Linked DNA regions of Homo sapiens: region 1 is linked to region 2. Evidence: promoter capture Hi-C in human tissues and cell types (Jung and others, 2019). All regions are on one chromosome and are shown on one strand. Each heading gives the region's core, a stretch centred on a gene start or on the middle of the fragment in contact. The rest is flanking DNA. Distances are from core to core; before and after follow the strand shown.

Region 1 (5,478 bases), core at 2,711-5,210, 39 kb after region 2:
GGTTTATTTGGCTCATGGTTCTGCAGGCTGTACAGGAAGTGTGACTCTGGCATCCGCTTGGCTTCTGGTGAGGTCCTTGGGCTGTTTCCACTCATAACTGAAGGCCAAGGGGAGCCAGTGTGTGCAGAGATCACATGGTGAGAGAGGAAGCAACATGGCGGGAGGTGCCGGGCTCTTGTTAACAACCAGCTCTCCCAGGAGCTTACAGAGTGATACTCATTCATTACCACCATGATGGCACCAAGCCATTCATGAGGGGTTCACCCTATGACCCAAACACCTCCTGCTAGGCCTGAACTCTAACATTAGGGATCAAATTCCTCTGTGAGGTTTGGAGAGACAACCAACCAACAAAACCACAGAAGCATCCAAATCATTTCTTCAGAGCTAAACTAAATCTTTTAGCACTCCAATCTTAGAGTATAATTATATTACAAATTACTACAATTTAATTATAGAAATTGCTCAGTGTTATACAAGCATTTCATAATTTATTTTGCAATTAATATATAGTTTAAGGGAGTTTTTAAAACTTTATACAAGTTTGTTTTGTAGGTTCTATGTAATATTAATATTTACTAATATTTACCTCATCTTTGATGTATTGATGTTGGGTAACCAGAAGAACATGTCTGAGCAGTCTCCCTTATAGTAGAATCTGCATAATGCAATATAATAAAAATATAATGAAACACTCAGCTGATCTCTGTAAAATGCAGTCTCTCTGTAAACAGCCAAGTGTTGTTTGACATGATGATGAATTGGGAAGGGAATGTAAATGACTTTTCAGTGTTGAAAGGGGTTTGTGCTATTGGAATATTACAGGAGCCTCTTCCCCTGCAAGCAATGTTTCAAGACTCTTGCACTCCTTGGAAAGTTTGTAATGCACCAATTTAAGGTAGATTATAATAAGAAAAAAAAACTACTAATACTGTAATTATATAGAGTACTACTAAGATAACATTTTCATAATATAAAATGTAGGCAAAATAAATAATAATTAACCCCCCCAAAAAAAGATGGAGTAAGGGGGCACAGAATAAGTAAAACAATTACAAAGGGAATAGAAAGATGATAGGCTCAAAATGCACTATATTAAAAATGACATAAATTTTGAATGTACTAACATTCCAGTTTGAAAACAGATATTGTCATAATAGTTATTAAAAAATGAGCATGATCCAACCATTTCTATAAAAAAGAGACACACTTTAGATATAAGGCCACAGAAGGATTTAAATTGAAAGATTGGAAAGAAGATATAAAGGTGGTCCTCGTTATTCACTGATTCCAAGTTTGCCTACTAGTCAAAATGTATTTGTAACTCCTAAATCAGTATTCTGTGTTTTCACAGTCGTGCTCAAACCTGTGCAGAGTGGTGAACATTTTGAGTCTCTTAAGGGCACATTCCCAGACGAAGTCAAATGAGGTCCCATTCTGCCTTCTTGTTTTAGCTCTTCCATTGTTCAGAAGTATCCTTTTTATGATCTACTTAGTGCCATATTTTTTTTGCATTTCTGTGCTTTGTGTTGGTGACTTTTCTGTTTAAAATTGCTCCCAAGGTTAGTGCTGAGGTTCTGGTGTTCACAAGAACAAGAAGGCTGTGATGTGCCTTATGCAGAAAATACCTGTGTTGGAGAAGCTTCCTGCCAGTGTGAGTGATAGTGCAGTTGGCTGTGCGTTTAATGCTAATGAATTAACAATGCATATTAGGTAAGGTGTCATTATATAGAAACACACATAAAACAAGGTTATGTATTGCTCAGTTCATGAAATGTTTGTGATCAGAGGCTCACAGAAACCTAACCCAGTAATTCCCCTGGGGACAATGGTTTAATATTTGTTAATTCAGTGCTCACAACTAACACTAATTCATGCAACTTTATAGAGCATAATTACATGGATAATGAGAATCGACTGTATGAAGAAAGCAGTAACCAGTAAAATCATGGTGTGATTATAGTACTACCAGAAAAATCAGACTTTAAATTATTCCTAGACATAAAGAGGGGGATTTTATAATGATGAAAATGCCAATTTAACAAGAAGAAATCAAACAATAAATTTGTATGTATTTAATAACATCAAAATATACTAAACAAAAATTGTAGAGAAACAAGGAGAAATAGAAATCTTTTCATCAGTAGAGATTTCAACACACCACAAGTAGCAGAGTGAACAATCTCAATATCAGTAAAACAGAAGATTTGGACAACAGGATTAAATAATTTGACCTAATTGACACATGGAGAACACCACTTCCCACAACTGTAGCATTCACATTTCTTTCTAGTACACATGGGCACATGTGTCATTTATCAAAATAAACTATATTATGCAGGGCCACAAAGCAGGTTTTAGTAAATTTCAAAGGAATGAAATATAATAATGCAAGTTATAATCTCTGATTATAGTGGAATTAAACCAGAAACCAATAACAGAAAGATAACTAGAAAATCCTTAGATGGTTGGAAATTAAGCAACAAACTTTTAAAAATCTATAGGTCACAAAAGTGATCGCAATAAAAATTTGAAATCTTTTTATATGAGTTATAGAAAAGCAAAGCATATAAATTTCACGTGAGAGAGAGTTGAAACAATGTTTGAGAGGAAATTTATGGCTTATTTTAAATGCACATATAAGAGAAGAAAAAAATGGCTCTTAGAAATGTTCAGACTCGGTGGAGCCAAGATGGCCTAAGAGGAACAGCTCCAGTCTACAGCTCCCAGCGTGAGTGACGCAGAAGACAGGTGATTTCTGCATTTCCATCTGAGGTACTGGGTTCATGTCACTAGGGAGTGCCAGAAAGTGGGTGCAGGACAGTGCATGCAGCGCACCGTGCGCGAGCCGAAGCAGGGCGAGGCATTGCCTCACTCGGGAAGTGCAAGGGGTCAGGGAGTTCCCTTTCCTAGTCAAAGAAAGGGGTGACAGACGGCACCTGGAAAATTGGGTCACTCCCACCCCAATACTGCGCTTTTCCAATGGGCTTAAAAAATGGCACACCAGGAGATTATATCCTGCACCTGGCTCAGAGGGTCCTATGTCCACGGAGTCTCACTGATTGCTAGCACAGCAGTCTGAGATCAAACTGCAAGGCGGCAGTGAGGCTGGGGGAGGGGTGCCCACCATTGCCCAGGCTTGCTTAGGTAAACAAAGCAGTGGGGAAGCTTGAACTGGGTGGAGCCCACCACAGCTCAAGGAGGCCTGCCTGCCTCTGTAGGCTCCACCTCTGGGGGCAGGGCACAGACAAACAAAAAGACAGCAGTAACCTCTGCAGACTTAAACGTGCCTGTCTGACAGCTTTGAAGAGAGTAGTGGTTCTCCCAGCATGCAGCTGGAGATCTGAGAATGGGCAGACTGCCTCCTCAAGTGGGTCCCTGACCCCTGAGCAGCCTAACTGGGAGGCACCCCCTAGTAGGGGCAGACTGACACCTCACACGGTGGGGTACTCCTCTGAGACAAAACTTCCAGAGGAACGATCAGGCAGCAGCATTTGCAGTTCACGAAAATCTGCTGTTCTACAGCCACGGCTGTTCTGCAGCCACCGCTGCTGGTACCCAGGAAAACAGGGTCTGGAGTGGACCTCTAGCAAACTCCAACAGACCTGCAGCTGAGGGTCCTGTCTGTTAGAAGGAAAACTAACAAACAGAAAGGACATCCACACCAAAAACCCATCTGTATGTCACCATCATCAAACACCAAAAGTAGATAAAACCACAAAGATGGGGAAAAAACAGAGCAGAAAAACTGGAAACTCTAAAAAGCAGAGCACCTCCCCTCCTCCAAAGGAATGCAGTTCCTCACCAGCAATGGAACAAAGCTGGACGGAGAATGACTTTGACGAGTTGAGAGAAGAAGGCTTCAGACGATCAAACTACTCTGAGCTACAGGAGGAAATTCAAACTAATGGCAAAGAAGTTAAAAACTTTGAAAAAAAATGAGATGAATGTATAACTAGAGTAACCAATGCAGAGAAGTGCTTAAAGGAACTGATGGAGCTGAAAGCCAAGGCTTGAGAACTACGTGAAGAATGCAGAAGCCTCAGGAGTTGATGCGATCAAATGGAAGAAAGGGTATCAGTCATGGAAGATGAAATGAATGAAATGAAGCAAGAAGGGAAGTTTAGAGAAAAAAGAATAAAAAGAAACGACAAAGTCTCCAAGAAATATGGGACTATGTGAAAAGACCAAATCTACGTCTGATTGGTGTACCTGAAAGTGACGGGGAGAATGGAACAAAGTTGGAAAACACTCTGCAGGATATTATCCAGGAGAACTTCCCCAATCCAGCAAGGCAGGCCAACATTCAGCTTCAGGAAATACAGAGAACGCCTGGAGAAGAGCAACTGCAAGACACATAATTGTCAGATTCACCAAAGTTGAAATGAAGGAAAAAATGTTAAGAGCAGCCAGAGAGAAAGGTCGGGTTACCCACAAAGGGAAGCCCATCAGACTAACAGCTGATCTCTCAGCAGAAACTCTACAAGCCAGAAGAGAGTGGGGGCCAATATTCAACATTCTTAAAGAAAAGAATTTTCAACCCAGAATTTCATATCCAGAGAAACTAAGCTTCATAAGTGAAGGAGAAATAAAATCCTTTACAGACAAGCAAACGCTGAGAGATTTTGTCACCACCAGGCCTGCCCTAAAAGAGCTCCTGAAGGAAGCACTAAACATGGAAAGGAACAACCGGTACCAGCCACTGCAAAAACATGCCAAATTGTAAAGACCATCAAGGCTAGGAAGAAACTGCATCAACTAACGAGCAAAATAACCAGCTAACATCATAATGACAGGATCAAATTCACACATAACAATATTAACTTTAAACGTAAATGGGCTAAATGTTCCAGTTAAAAGACACAGACTGGCAAATTGGATAAAGAGTCAAGACCCATCAGTGTGTTGTATTCAGGAAACCCATCTCACGTGCAGAGACACACATAGGCTCAAAATAAAGGGATGGAGGAAGATCTACCAAGCAAATGGAAAACAAAAAAAGGTAGGGCTTGCAATCCTAGTCTCTGATAAAACAGACTTTAAACCAACAAAGATCAAAAGAGACAAAGAAGGCCATTACATAATGGTAAAGGGATCAATTCAACAAGAAGAGCTAACTATCCTAAATATATATGCACCCAATACAGGAGCACCCAGATTCATAAAGCAAGTCCTGAGTGACCTACAAAGAGACTTAGACTCCCACACAATAATAATGGGAGACCTTAATACCCCACTGTCAACATTAGACAGATCGATGAGACAGAAGGTTAACAAGGATACCCAGGAATTGAACTCAGCTCTGCACCAAGTGGACCTAATAGACATCTACAGAACTCTCCACCCCAAATCAACAGAATATACATTTTTTTCAGCACCACACCACACCTATTCCAAAATTGACCACATAGTTGGAAATAAAGCACTCCTCAGCAAATGGAAAAGAACAGAAATTATAACAAACCGTCTCTCAGACCA
Region 2 (5,981 bases), core at 1,475-3,974:
GATGTCCCGGGATGTGGCAGCGTGGTAGGGGCAAGGCGGGCATCTGCCTAAGTACCAGAACTTACAGGAGGAGGCGCTTCCCGGTTTAACAGGAAGAAACTGGGCAGCAGGACTTCCTTCTGGGTTTTAACTTCGCGTCCCCAGGACAAATTCCCTTTCCCTCCCTAGAAGCCCTGGGGGTCACTCGCTTCCACAGAACCGGGCAGGTCCCCAGGGGTGTCCAGGCAGCACCTCGGCCCCCAGCCCCGGGCCGGACACCCTGAGGACCGGGCGAGCGAAGGGGAGACGCGGGGTCGGCGGGCTCCGCTACCTGCGCGCCGGCCCCCTCGGCCCCGGGATCCAGGTCCTCCGGCCCCCGCAGGAACCACCATTGGATCTCCAGATACACCGAGGCGGAGCCGCTCTGGAAGGCGCAGGACATCTCCACATTCTGCCCCTCGGTCGCCGTCACGTTCCGCGGAAACTCGGTAAATTTTGCTGCAAAACAGAAAGGCATCCTGTTGGAATATCCACACCCCTCTTGCCTGAGTCTCTTTCCTTGAGAGCTCGCTACATTTTTCCTGGACTTAAATAGCAACAAAACCCCTCTCTTACATCCTCGGCTTCGTCTGGTTCCCCCAGCCCCCTTCCTTTGCCTCTTTCCTGTCTAACTTTTGGTATCATACCTAAATCACTATGTTGTTGATCAAATCCAGATAATGGAAAGGTTAACAAGCTTGCCAATAACTCTTAGCCAAGATCCCCGCAGGTAGATCCAAATACCTTTTGTCAGATTGCAGTATTCCACAACATTTACTGAGAGAGTCAGTGAGATACAATTTAGGCAATCTGTCAAGTTGATAAATGAGGAGAGTCTCTTGCCTCTAAGTTTCTAAACAATCTACCACTAACTGGATGTTTCATGTAACAGAGTAGATCATGATTATCTGTCAAAATGCACATTCCTGATACATCAAAACGGTTATTAGCAACACCAGTGAAACACGCCTGCAGCAGTGAAACAAGTTGCACACTTTATAAACTGTATATGTTTCCTTCTCTCCAAATTAACCTTTATTTGTTCCCATCAAGTCACTGTATTTTGAATTGCCATACATCTTAAGATGTAATGATCACACATCCAGGCTTAGTTCAGATTAAATATTATTTAGAAGTCACTATGGAGATGTTTCTCAGCCTTTTCATTACCAACCTTGACACTGCTAGTTTGCAAGATTCATGCAACCCTGGTGAAACTCACAAAAATATAATGTTTCCTTCCTCCTAAAGGCATTTCTTGAACATGCAATGCTCTTATCTTGTTACCAACGTGGTTGTTCTTATCTTATCTAAGGGGCACTTTGCAAAGAGCTGATGGTTCCCTAAAAGCAGTCCTGGGAAGATTTGTATGGCCAGTGGAAATGCACAACCACAATGCACACTTATGGAGAAGAGGGCCATGGGGAATGCAGAAATGATTTGGGGTGGATGCACTCCTCCCCCCACCCCTCACCTCACCCCCGGTTTAAAGAGAGACACTGTCTCTTTTCAACATTTTATGAAATCCCAAAAATGATCTCTAGTGAAATGAAACTATATTTGTACCTAAAACAGGGAAGCTATTAAGGAGACATTCTGATCGGAAAAGGGCTTTTCTATTCTAGCTGGCAGAAGGAGTATGGCATTTCTGCTTGCAGAAGTGATGCAGTCTTTTGGCACCAGAGATGTGATCTGTTCATGGTGCTGAAACGACCACTGCAGCCTACGAAGTCCTGAACAATCGGGTTCAGCAGGCTGCTGCTGCTTGTCATGCAAGTTGTGGCTTTTTATGGGTCCTCAGAGGAGTCTGTCCTTTGATAAACACACATACAAAAGGAGTCACACGGACCTACAAAAGGGAAACTCTAAGCCCAGTCTGACTACACAAGGAAGAGGGACTGGCAATGGAGAGTCCCAGTATCCAGCCCTGTGTTTGTTTGCGATGATTATGTATGCATGAGTGGCTACCCTGTGCATGCACACAGATAGAAAGCACACACACACCCACACACACACACCACACGACCCTGTGTTTGTGCTCACCGAGGAGCCCACCTCATTGTCAGGCACCAGCTAGATTTTCTCTCCAGCCTAGCTAGTCTACAGTTTAATAAACTTTAAAAAAAATCGTCAAACAGAACACTATTTATACAGCCTAAGCCCACTGTTACTTGCTAGGAAGCTTATTCTATCTGCCTGTCCATTCTTTTTGAGTGTAGGAAACACACACACACGCAAGCAAATGTATATTTGCCATTGAGCAAGACTTACCTTGAGAAGAAAGCCCTTGTTGTACATATAAAACGGAAAAGAAAACAAATCCAACATACACCAAAAAGATCCCCATCATTCCAAAAAGGGAGGGGGGTCACATCAGTGTAGCCAACAGCCGAAAAGCCCTGAAAGAAAGGCGTGCGAGTGGATGGCAGGCTCAGTCTCAGAGCCCTGGGCGCGACACTGCAAACATCCTGCTGCTTGCTTGGCGAGGGCTGGCTGTGGGGAGAAGGGATTGCGATTCTGGAAGGTTAGAACCAGCTGGCTGGGATTCAGCGAGGCTTCCTGCGGAGCCCAGGCTGGAATCGCTGGGAAGTGTCTCGGCTGCCTGGCTGCCTGCTTTCAGCTACCTGGCAGCTCGTCCAACGTCAGCCCGCCGCTCCGGCTTGCGTGATCACTGCCCTCCCTAAACACGGAGCCGGCTCGGGAAGTGGGGAGTGGGCAAGCGGGGCGGGCTGAGGACTTCGCCGGGCTCGCGGCGCCGCAACTTTTCCCTCTAATGGCTGCGATGATGCCTTTAACTCTGTGCGCGCTGGACAGCGCCCCGCCCGGGAGCTCGCGCCGGGCGGCCGCGGAGGGCGCAGGGCTCGTCGGCGCCGCTGGGGTCTCCCTTCTGGAGAGCAGGGACGTCGGTTTTTTTCCACTTTGCTTCTCTCCCCCATCGGGTGTCTTTCTGGCTCGGCGGATCAGATCGCTCGGTGCCGAGGAGGACAATACAGTGACGGGATTGCGGCGCTGGCGGGGGGCTCGGAGCAAAAGGTTCCGGGAGGGAGTTGGGGCATTGCTGAGGACCGGGGAGCAATGGGATGGGGGAGAGACGGGTGGGCCGAGGAAAACAGCCATTTAGGGAAATGCCGCTTACCCAGTTATTAACTGCTCCAACCAGGAGCATCACATGCTACGATTTCACACGAATTTCTTGCTGAACAGCTTTCAGTACAAGCAGCTCATGCAGGAGCCATATCGCTCCAGCTGGCAGACGGAGAAGAGAAAAAGTACAAAAAGTCACGCATTGAGGGAATTTTCTGGAAAGAAAAGCCCACCATACTATGTTTACTTTTTAAAAAATTACATACCTCCTGCCTTCTTTTCCTTCATCTTCCATGTATTTTGGAGGGGGGAGGGGTTTTAAATACCGTTAAGGTCTTCATTACGTGATTTTGTTTTGTTTATTTGCTTTTCTTTTGCATAGCACAATACTTATGTAATGTTCCCTGGGACTAAGTGAATAAGGAATCTTATTTTAGACACAAAAAATCACAATAAGTTTCAGAATGTGGAACAAATCTACTTATCTGCCTTGGTGAAGATTTGAGATGTACATTCTATTTTTAATTAAGAACTGAAACAACAATGTATATTATGTTAAAGACTCTATCTGACCTTATGCAATCCAACTATTAGTGGATTTAAATTTTTTTTAACAAAATTAATAGCATTTGCCATCTAAGAAGAGCACACATTTTTTATTCCCATTATTATTTCTATGCAACTATGCCACAAATTTTCAGTATTAGTTTGAAATATGAATTAGTCTTAATAATGCTATCAGGAAGCCAATGTAGGGTATGTATTTTCATTTTACAGATAAAGAATTTGTAGTTGGCTAATGCCTTTACTAGCCAGAAAAAAAATTAACCTTAACATAGCGGTTGCATTTTAAATCACTTATCTTCTATTGCTGAATGCAGCAATAACTTAAAGCTCAGAAAACTAAAGACACAATAACGTCATCACAATATTATTTATTTTCTGAAAGTATATTTATTTTTTACTGTGAGTAGGGGCAGAATATGGGATTTGGAGACAATCATGGGAGATATTTTATATCTGTTCATGTTTAGGCCAACCAGACTCTGTATCCTCCTTGTATTTAGCAAAGGATTTTGAAGTTTATCGTTCTAAGAAAGGAAATCACTTTATGTTCAAACATTCATGGACAATGAGTTCAGAACATAGAAACATAATCCAAGTTAATACACCTGAACCATACTAAGCATTACGTGGAAAGTAAACAACAAAACCTTGCATATGCTTTAAATGTTAAGCCTAACAGGATGTTTTCAATGTGCTAACATGATTTTGGCTTTATTTCAACCTTTAGCATAAACATGGGTATAATATGTCATGGAAATGACCTGACTTCAAGGTTATCTGCTGTTAAAACAGTTCTCAATATAAAGGGCATTTATTTTAAGTAAGAGGAGTTCTAAATTAATTTAGCAAAGCATTTCAACTATTTAAAAGAAGTACTTGATCACTGTAACAATAAAAGTACAATAAAAATAAGCTTAAGAGTGTGAAAAATAAAGTGTGAGAAAGCTTTTATAGTACAAATAAGCCATTGAATTACTTTAAAATAAAGTTATAAGCGTTTAAGCTATGAAGGAAACAAAGAAGAAAGGAGGGAAGGAAAAAAAAAAGGAGAAAGATGAAATTGGAAAAGTCTTTTGTTCTCCTTATGAAAAGTGCCTGATGGGTATTTTAGTTTTACCAATGTAGACCAAAGTTTTTTCTTAAATATGTGTTATATCATCTCAAGGACTGTAAATAGTGCTAATAAACATGTATGCATTATCTTCTATAGGTCATTTGCCTTGTTAATGACAAACTGTCTCTGTGTTAACAGTTTGAAATGAGAAAATTTAATTAAGAAGTAAATATATTCAGTATATCACATGATCACAGTTCTGAGACTAGGTCCAATTCTTTATACAAGTTCTTGTAAAGCACTGTACTCTCCTACAAGATTGGAAGTAAATTATCAAGAAAGACAATTTGTCTGCATCCAGATATAAGAGAAATATTTCCTGCCCATTTCTCCTTTGCCAAAATGATTGCTGATGCCTTATCCTATAAAAATAACTGCAAATCTCTTCTTAAAAAATACCTATTGATAGTGCTCCAAAAATCAAATTCTACCATCTCACTTTTTGATTGCTTTGTTGCCCTCTTAATGAGCTTTTGGTCATTATTTTGCTTCTTAAAAATTCAGACATTTCCCCCAAAACCTAAAATAGGAATGTTTATCTGAACATGCTCTTTCCTCGGGCGTAATAAAATCTGTTGGAGATCATTCCATTGTGTTCCTTTGGCATCTTATTTAGATTATATTTGTTCATTTTTTTACATATTCAAACTTATTTAACTTACTCTTTCAAACACTGTTTCTTTGTGATGTCTGTAGGCTTCTACATAAACTTTGAGAGCAATTGATCCACCTAAGAGCTGAACTGGCAAGGGGGAGGGTCTTTATATTTTGTGGCTCTGTCCTTTTCTCCTAAGGATTTGGAGACATTTTTCCATCTTGAAGTTGAGGGAGATCACTGTATTTCACTCCCATAGGCTCATGATAGAATGGCTTTCCATATCACACTTTCAAAATTTGTCATAAGTTGAGGCTTAAGAGCCAATGTAAACTTTAAAAGTTTTTCATAAGTAACTGGAAGATACAAAATTAGATATTTCCTTTAGAAATAACTTTTAAAATAGCCATCTAAAGAATTGGAAGACAGTCCTCACTGGGTTAGATGAGCTGTTCCTGTCCATGCCCTTCGATGTGCATCCTACTGTGTTCTTGAACACTTTCTTTGGAGATGATCAAAACTGCATAAGAGAGAATATATCAGGGTACTGAGAAACATTTTCACTCACAATCTCATTCCTGGATTAAATTCTTTTCTCACTTC

The links. The method cuts DNA at HindIII sites, captures the fragments that hold promoters and counts their contacts. A contact is called where the count stands out against the background at its distance.
Region 1: a fragment that was not itself captured here is called in contact with the fragment with the promoter of VSTM2A in region 2 in 2 of the 25 tissues and cell types used here (spleen and stomach).

Annotation. Positions count from the first base shown.
Region 1 is chr7:54,502,087-54,507,564 of GRCh38, reverse strand. No RefSeq gene overlaps it. Among named protein-coding and RNA genes, the nearest start is that of VSTM2A, 38 kb to the left of the region's middle. The HindIII fragment of the contact is 3,110 bases long and covers 2,406-5,478 here.
Region 2 is chr7:54,539,118-54,545,098 of GRCh38, reverse strand. It overlaps VSTM2A (V-set and transmembrane domain containing 2A), which reads right to left and starts at 2,724. Exons shown (of 5, transcript NM_001301009.2): 1 at 2,290-2,724; 2 at 311-477. The coding sequence starts at 2,368. RefSeq lists enhancers at 1-292, 2,586-3,086. The HindIII fragment of the contact is 8,953 bases long and covers 1,459-5,981 here.